Linked DNA regions of Homo sapiens: region 1 is linked to region 2. The links are contacts of gene promoters, found by promoter capture Hi-C in blood cells and fetal thymus (Javierre and others, 2016). All regions are on one chromosome and are shown on one strand. The core of a region is centred on a gene start or on the middle of the fragment in contact, and the rest is flanking DNA. Distances in the headings are between cores, read along the strand shown.

Evidence for each region. The method cuts DNA at HindIII sites, captures the fragments that hold promoters and counts their contacts. A CHiCAGO score of 5 or more calls a contact.
Region 1: a contact is called between the fragment with the promoter of PPP2CA here and the fragment with the promoter of ZCCHC10 in region 2, in 1 of 17 cell types (non-activated CD4 T cells). The highest score is 8.9, in non-activated CD4 T cells.

Annotation. Positions count from the first base shown.
Region 1 is chr5:134,224,771-134,227,938 of GRCh38, forward strand. PPP2CA (protein phosphatase 2 catalytic subunit alpha) reads right to left here and starts at 1,303. Exons shown (of 7, transcript NM_002715.4): 1 at 990-1,303. The coding sequence starts at 1,091. It overlaps MIR3661 (microRNA 3661), which reads left to right and starts at 987; the gene lies at 987-1,082. PPP2CA-DT (PPP2CA divergent transcript) reads left to right here and starts at 1,640. Exons shown (of 1, transcript NR_186539.1): 1 at 1,640-3,168. RefSeq lists enhancers at 593-702, 1,042-1,561, 1,562-2,083, 2,083-2,242, 2,084-2,603. The HindIII fragment of the contact is 2,287 bases long and covers 226-2,512 here.
Region 2 is chr5:133,024,746-133,027,988 of GRCh38, forward strand. It overlaps ZCCHC10 (zinc finger CCHC-type containing 10), which reads right to left and starts at 1,804. Exons shown (of 5, transcript NM_001300816.3): 1 at 1,752-1,804. The coding sequence starts at 1,792. RefSeq lists an enhancer at 1,564-1,873 and a silencer at 1,954-2,083. The HindIII fragment of the contact is 6,187 bases long and covers 459-3,243 here.

The sequences.
Region 1 (3,168 bases), core at 53-2,552, 1.2 Mb after region 2:
TTACTAAGTGGACTACAACATTCTATTTTCAGTGTATGTGAGACATTATTTAAACACTAAGCACAATGTCTGGAATACAATCTCAGTCGACAGTTATTATCACTACTACTACTTGCAGCCACAAAATACTATCAAGTAATTTTTGCAACAAAGATACAAAATTTACCGCTCTTCCATTTTATGTTGTTCATTTTAAAAATAAACGGCAAAATGCCAAGTGTGTTAAGCTTAGAGAAGGCTTTGAGTCAGCATATAAATCATATTCAACCGACACTTGATTTCCAATCCAAAAGCTCCTTATGTAGTATGACTCACCAAATTCCCGATTTCTTCCAACTATGAAAAATAAGTTACACTCCTCCCTTATAGCTACCACCATGACCTTCGTAAAAATTAGGTTAAGAGAATAATTTAAAAATTCTTAAAGACACCCCTTACCTTGATTTCTGGAGAAGATCGCTTGGTGAGTTTAATACAAACCACCAAGGGGTACTAAAGCTGTGTGACCTTTAGGTATGTTCTGGGATACGGCCTAACAAGACTGCCTTTGGGGGATCCTCTGGGCAGCTCTGGACCTAACTAGGCCTGGGTACCAGCGGCAAGACTCTTACTCAGCCCACCGGAGAGGCCCAGGCTCCATTCCCAAGCCGCAGAATCCAAGCCAGCTCACCCTCAAAACCGTCCCTGACGATGACCCACAGGGTCTCCGCTCCCCCTGCCACCTCGTCTGGCGCCAAGGCCGGCTGACTCAAAAGCCCAGGAGTCGAGTGAACGGCGCCATTTTAGGCGGCGGCGGCAACCAATCCCTGCGCGGGAGGCAGGGGGCGCCGGGTCGTTAGGAAGCCGCCGCCGGCCAGGATGGGCGCCGGTCTCGGAGACTCGGGGGGCCCGGACCGGCGGCCTCCGCCATGTTGCACCCTCCTCACGGCCGCCTTTTCCTCGGCGGGCTCGGCCCCGCGGCGGCTGTCCGCAGCCGTACTACAGCTCACCTTCTCGCAGAGGCTCTTGACCTGGGACTCGGACAGCTGCTTGCACTCGTTCAGCTGCTCGATCCACTGGTCCAGCTCCTTGGTGAACACCTTCTCGTCCATGATGCCACCCGCCCCAGCCGGCTGCCGCTCCGCGCTGCTCCCGCGCCGCCGCCCGCACACGGGCCTACACGCACACGCCGCCGCCGGTTCCTCGTGTACTTCTGGCGGCTGTTGAGGCTGGCGCTGGCCCGCTGGCTCTCACCGCAGTACTCGGCCGTCGGCCGCTGCGCCTCCTCCTCCGCTCGCTGAGGCTCCAGAGCTCGGCTCTCTGTAATGGCGGCCGCCGGGCGTGGTGACGTCACGCCCGGCGTCAGGAGGCGGCGGGGAGCGGAGGGGAAAAGGGCCGGGGAGCAAGCTGCGCAACTGCAGAGCCCTCCCCGGGCGGCCGCACGACCGGAGTTGGGGCGCAAACTGGGGGTCAAAGCGCAGGCGCGACGTAGCCGGCTGGTAACTGAAGCGCCTTGACTTTTTGGGCGTGGCTCCCGGAGGGCGGGGTGGTGGGGGAAGGGAAGGATGGAGCTGGAGCATGCGCAGTGCGCACAGCGGCGAACCGGACTAATCCCTGAGCACTATTCCAGGAGAGGCGAGGGCTTGGGCCGCGCGCAGGCGCAGACCGGATGGAAGCCGGGGCCACTGGCAGCCTGTAACTGGTTCCCCTGGGAAGGCCGCTCTGGTGATGAACTCAGCTCCTCACCTGGGGCCTGGCAGTCCGATCACGGAAACGAGAATTGCGACCCCGTGGCTCATCTGGGGTGCTGCGGCTCTGTAATCGTGTGGGTTTCCGTCATCTTTGGGGGCAGGAACGGGCAGCGAGTGGCCGCTTGGATTAACCACCCCCACCTCTGGGCGCGGCTGGCACCTTGTAATTAGGTCACTCGTAGGTGGAGGAGCGTGTACCTACCGGGGGAGTGCTGCGCAGTGCACCTGACTTCCGCGGCACACACCCGTCCCCGGACCTAGGTGTCTCGTCGGGCGCGATGGCGGGGGCGAGGCTTGGGCTTTTCTTTGGGCCTCGGACCGCGGCTCGCTTCCACGCGCCCCGCTCCTCGCCGGTGGTTGCTTTCCTCCAAGTTTAATTCTCTCTGGGAATGAGAGACCCTCAACCCCTGCGCGCCCTGGCCTACTTTCAAGAGGGGAAGCCCAGAGAAGATGGATGCACCTGTCCTGACCGCGTCTCGGTGGCGTGAGAAGCAGCTGTGATACGTGCTTAAAAGAGAGAGCTCGTATACCCTAGGATTGGACCTCTGTCTGGTTATGAATCGCTTTGGAGTTTGCGAAACGTTTTCACATTCCATTGTCCCTGCTTTTACATAAATATCTGGTTCCATAGAGCGCCAGCTATATGCCAGATCCGGAGGGGTCATCCAGACGGACCAGGGACCATGCCCTGGAGCTTGTATTCTCCCAACAGTACTGGCTGAAGATGGTTTGGGATAGGCAGAAGAGAGATCATAATGCCCCCAGGATTTGAAAGATATAGAAGCTTTCCAAAGAACATTTAACCATAAAGGGCAAGGCAAGAGCTGAACCTGATCGCCTGTCTTCCAGGAACCCCACCCTCAGTATCAGGCAACCCTTCCACACCCAAGTGCTCAGCGATGCTTGGGAGGAGACTGCTCACTCTGCGGCTCTGAGGGCATCATCCCCACCAACAGGCTGAAGAAGGCACTGGAGGCCCCATCAGCCAATAGCAGGACTGAAAATCCTCCTTTATCCAAGACAACGTGTTTGGCAAGGCCGACTGGCTTGGCCTCCCTAGGCTGGAAATTGCAATTCTGCTTTCCCTTCACACCTCCCATTAGTGTGCACAAAAGAAAGTACCTTAAATCTACTCTTCTAGAAGTCTTATCACATACTTAATTTACCAGACTGGGAAAAAGACCCTTTAGCCCAAATTCTGTCCCTGTTTTGCAGTTAACATCCCCAAACAATAGAAGGGTAAGAGTTAAGACCAAGTGGAATGAATAAGGAAAAAATCATCACTTAGTGCCCGTGATTATAAAGCCATACCCAGTGTGCTGTCTAATCTTATTCTTTACCGTTGCCATGAACCTGTGTGAGAACTGTCTGATGGGGCAAGAAGCAGACAGGCACTCAGAAAAGAGAAGGGACTTGCCTAAGATAGTGGTCAGGATTT
Region 2 (3,243 bases), core at 554-3,053:
TACAAAAATTAGCAGGGCATGGTGGCGGACGCCTGTAGTCCCAGCTAGTCGGGAGGCTGAGGCAGGAGAATCATTTGAACCAGGGAGGCAGAGGTTGCAGTGAGCCAAGATCGCACCACTGCATTCCAGCCTGGGCAACAGAGTGAGACTCCGTCTAAAAAAAAAACAAAAAAAACCTGTCTGACTTCGAGCCTTCTTCCTTCACCAAGCTTACTACTCTAACTCCCTAAGTCTGTCTGTACATTTGAGGAACTCTTCTTATCAGGCCTGAAAGGGTAGATGGAAAGGAGAAGAAAAAGGGATTATTTGAATTAAAAAATATAAAAAGATATACAGATAAACACACATACATATACTAGCAGACTCTGAGCTACATATAGACATGAAAATGGAGATGGCATGAAATATTTATGAAAAAGAGGCAGATGTCTGGATGTGCAAAGGCTGTTGGAAAAAAAAGCTTTATAAGAAAGGGGTTGCCGCGCGCGGTAGCTCACGCCTGTAATCCCAGCACTTTGGGAGGCCAAGGCGGGCGGATCTCGAGGTCAGGGGATCGAGACCATCCTGGCTAACACGGTGAAACCCCATCTCTACTAAAAATACAAAAAACCAGCCGGGCATGGTGGCGGGCGCCTGTAGTCCCAGCTACTCGGGAGGCTGAGGCAGGGGAACGGCGTGAACCCGGGGGGCGGAGCTTGCAGTGAGCCAAGATTGCACCTCTGCACTCCAGCCTGGGAGACAGAGCAAGACTCCGCCTCAAAAAAAAAAAAAAAAAAAAAAAAAAAAAAGAAAGGGGCATCTGGGGTGACCCTTGCATTATTTGTCAGCTATGAATCTCTTCTGCCACTCTCTCTTGTTCATTAGGCGTAATGGCTATCTTTCAGTTCTGTAAAAAGTAAGTTTCAGGCTCAAAGCAATTATGCCACTATCCGGATGCTCTTTCTCAAAATCCTCGTATGACTGTTCCTTTTTCATCCTTTAAATCTCTGTTCAAATTCCACCTCTTCAGAGATGCCTTTCCAGTCCAACCAACCTAAAGTGGGCCTTTCCCTCTTTCCATCACAACAGCTTACTTCCTTCAAAGCTGTTATCACCAGCTGTATTTACAATTTGTGGTTTATCGACTGTTTCCATCACTAGAATGTAAGCTCTCTGAAAGCAAGGATTTTGTCTTGAACACCTCTATTTATACCCAATGTCTGGCACAGAACGGTAGGAACTAAATAAATTAATATTTATTGAAAGAGAGAATGAGTAGCAAAAGGTGGTAAGATAGCCTGGGAAAGCAATCGGCATTGAAGGCAGGGTGTTCCTAAGGAAGGCGCTAGAATAAGGAAGTAGGAAAAGGCAGCTGGGCTGGACACTGAATAGGAAACTGAAGGTTTACGTCGGCTGGAATAAAGGTGTCGGACCGGGGCTTCAGGGCTCCCCTGTCCACGCGTGGGGTTGGCGGAGGGGCATAAATCACTGAGTGACCAACTGTGGGCGTTCCTTTCAGAGAAACCAAACGCGACAGTTGTCTTCAAACCCCGCTCTGTCCCGTGCCGCAGACTTTACGCGGCTGTCTTCCGCGAAATCGCTAACCCCCGGTCACCAGACTTATCGCCCGGGCCCGAGCCCCCCGGGAGCCAGAAGAGTGTTTGAGAAACGGACATTCTCCGCCGGTCCCAATAGGGGTCCGACACCAGCCCGTTGACGCGCGTTTCCCCGCTCCCAGCCCTCCAGTGGACCCGAACCGGATCCTTACTTACGCTTGTCTCCGGGCTATTAGCCGATGCATGGGAGTCGCCATCTTAGCGCGGTCAAAGCCGGCCGCGCAGGGTTTTGGGAAACTCCTCGGAAGGGCGGGGCTTCCAACCGGGAGGCCGTAGACGTAGGCGGGGCCAGACAGGCTTCTAAGGGGAGGTATCTTAGTGCCGGCTGGTGGGTCGGGAGGGGAGGGGCTGGAGGGTCGGGAGGGGAGGGGCTGGAGGGTCGGGAGGGGAGGGGCTGGAGGGGCTGGAGGGTCGGGACGGGAGGGACTGGTGGGTCGGGAGGGGCCGGTGTCTCCAGTATGGGTCTCGGGTTCTCGGGCCGAACAGGGTTTCAAAGGATGATTACAGGCAAGAACATTATCTGTGGAAAATGAGGACAACATTCTCGAACGAGGGATACACATACAAAGACAAAGAATGAAACTTTGGTGTTCAGAAAACTAGAAGTAGTCTGGAGAATAGAAAGGAATTAGTTGACCAGGATTGAGACCATCAATTGAAAGAATGACTTTAGCAAGCCATGGAGTGCAAACATATACGTTATTTCTGTTTTTTATGTATTTCACAGCGTTGTTACGAGTACTAAATGGGACTGTATAACTAAAGCTGCTTTATCAAGCAGAAAAGGACTATACAAATATTTTAGAATATTTTAGCTGCACCTACATCTAATGTCAGCTCACGGAGCTATTATTCTCTTAAAACCCACGTTCTCTGAAATATATATAATTTTCTGAAGTGTGTGTGTGTTTCTGGGTCATCCATATTTTTTCCTTTTTTTTTTAATTTGAGACAGAGTCTCGCTGTGTCGCCAGGCTGGAGTGCAGTGGCGCGATCTCGGCTCAGTGCAACCTCTGGGTCCCTGGTTCAAGAGATTCTCTTGTCTCACACTCCCGAATAGCTGGGATGACAAGCACGCGCCACCATGCCCAGCTAATTTTTGTATTTTTACTAGAGACAGGGTTTCACCATGTTGGCCAGGATGGTCTCGATCTCCTGACCTCATAATCCGCCCGCCTCGGCCTCCTAAAGTGCTGGGATTACAGGCGTGAGCCACCGCGCCCAGCCATATTTTTTCAATTAATAATTAACACTTAAAATGTTTTAGGAGCTGAGGACAGAGCATTTGAACAAATAAAATCCGTGTACACATGGAACTTTCTACAGACAATGAATGAAGACTATTCTCATGGGCATAAGTACTCTAACGAAAAATATTTCAGAGTAAGGGATTAAAGAGTGATTAGGAGTTAGGGAAGGTGATGATGTGACCTTTGAGCACAACTTGTTCTTCAAAAAAATAGGCTCTTACATGTTGTGTTCTCCAGCTTGATTTTTTCATTCCTCAGTGTACTTATGAAAATGTTTTCCCGGCCAGGCGCAGTGGCTCACGCCTGTAATCCCAGCACTTTCGGAGGCCGAGAAGGGCGGATCACCTGAGGTTGGGAGTTCAAGGCCAGCTTGACCAACATGGAGAAACCCCATCTCT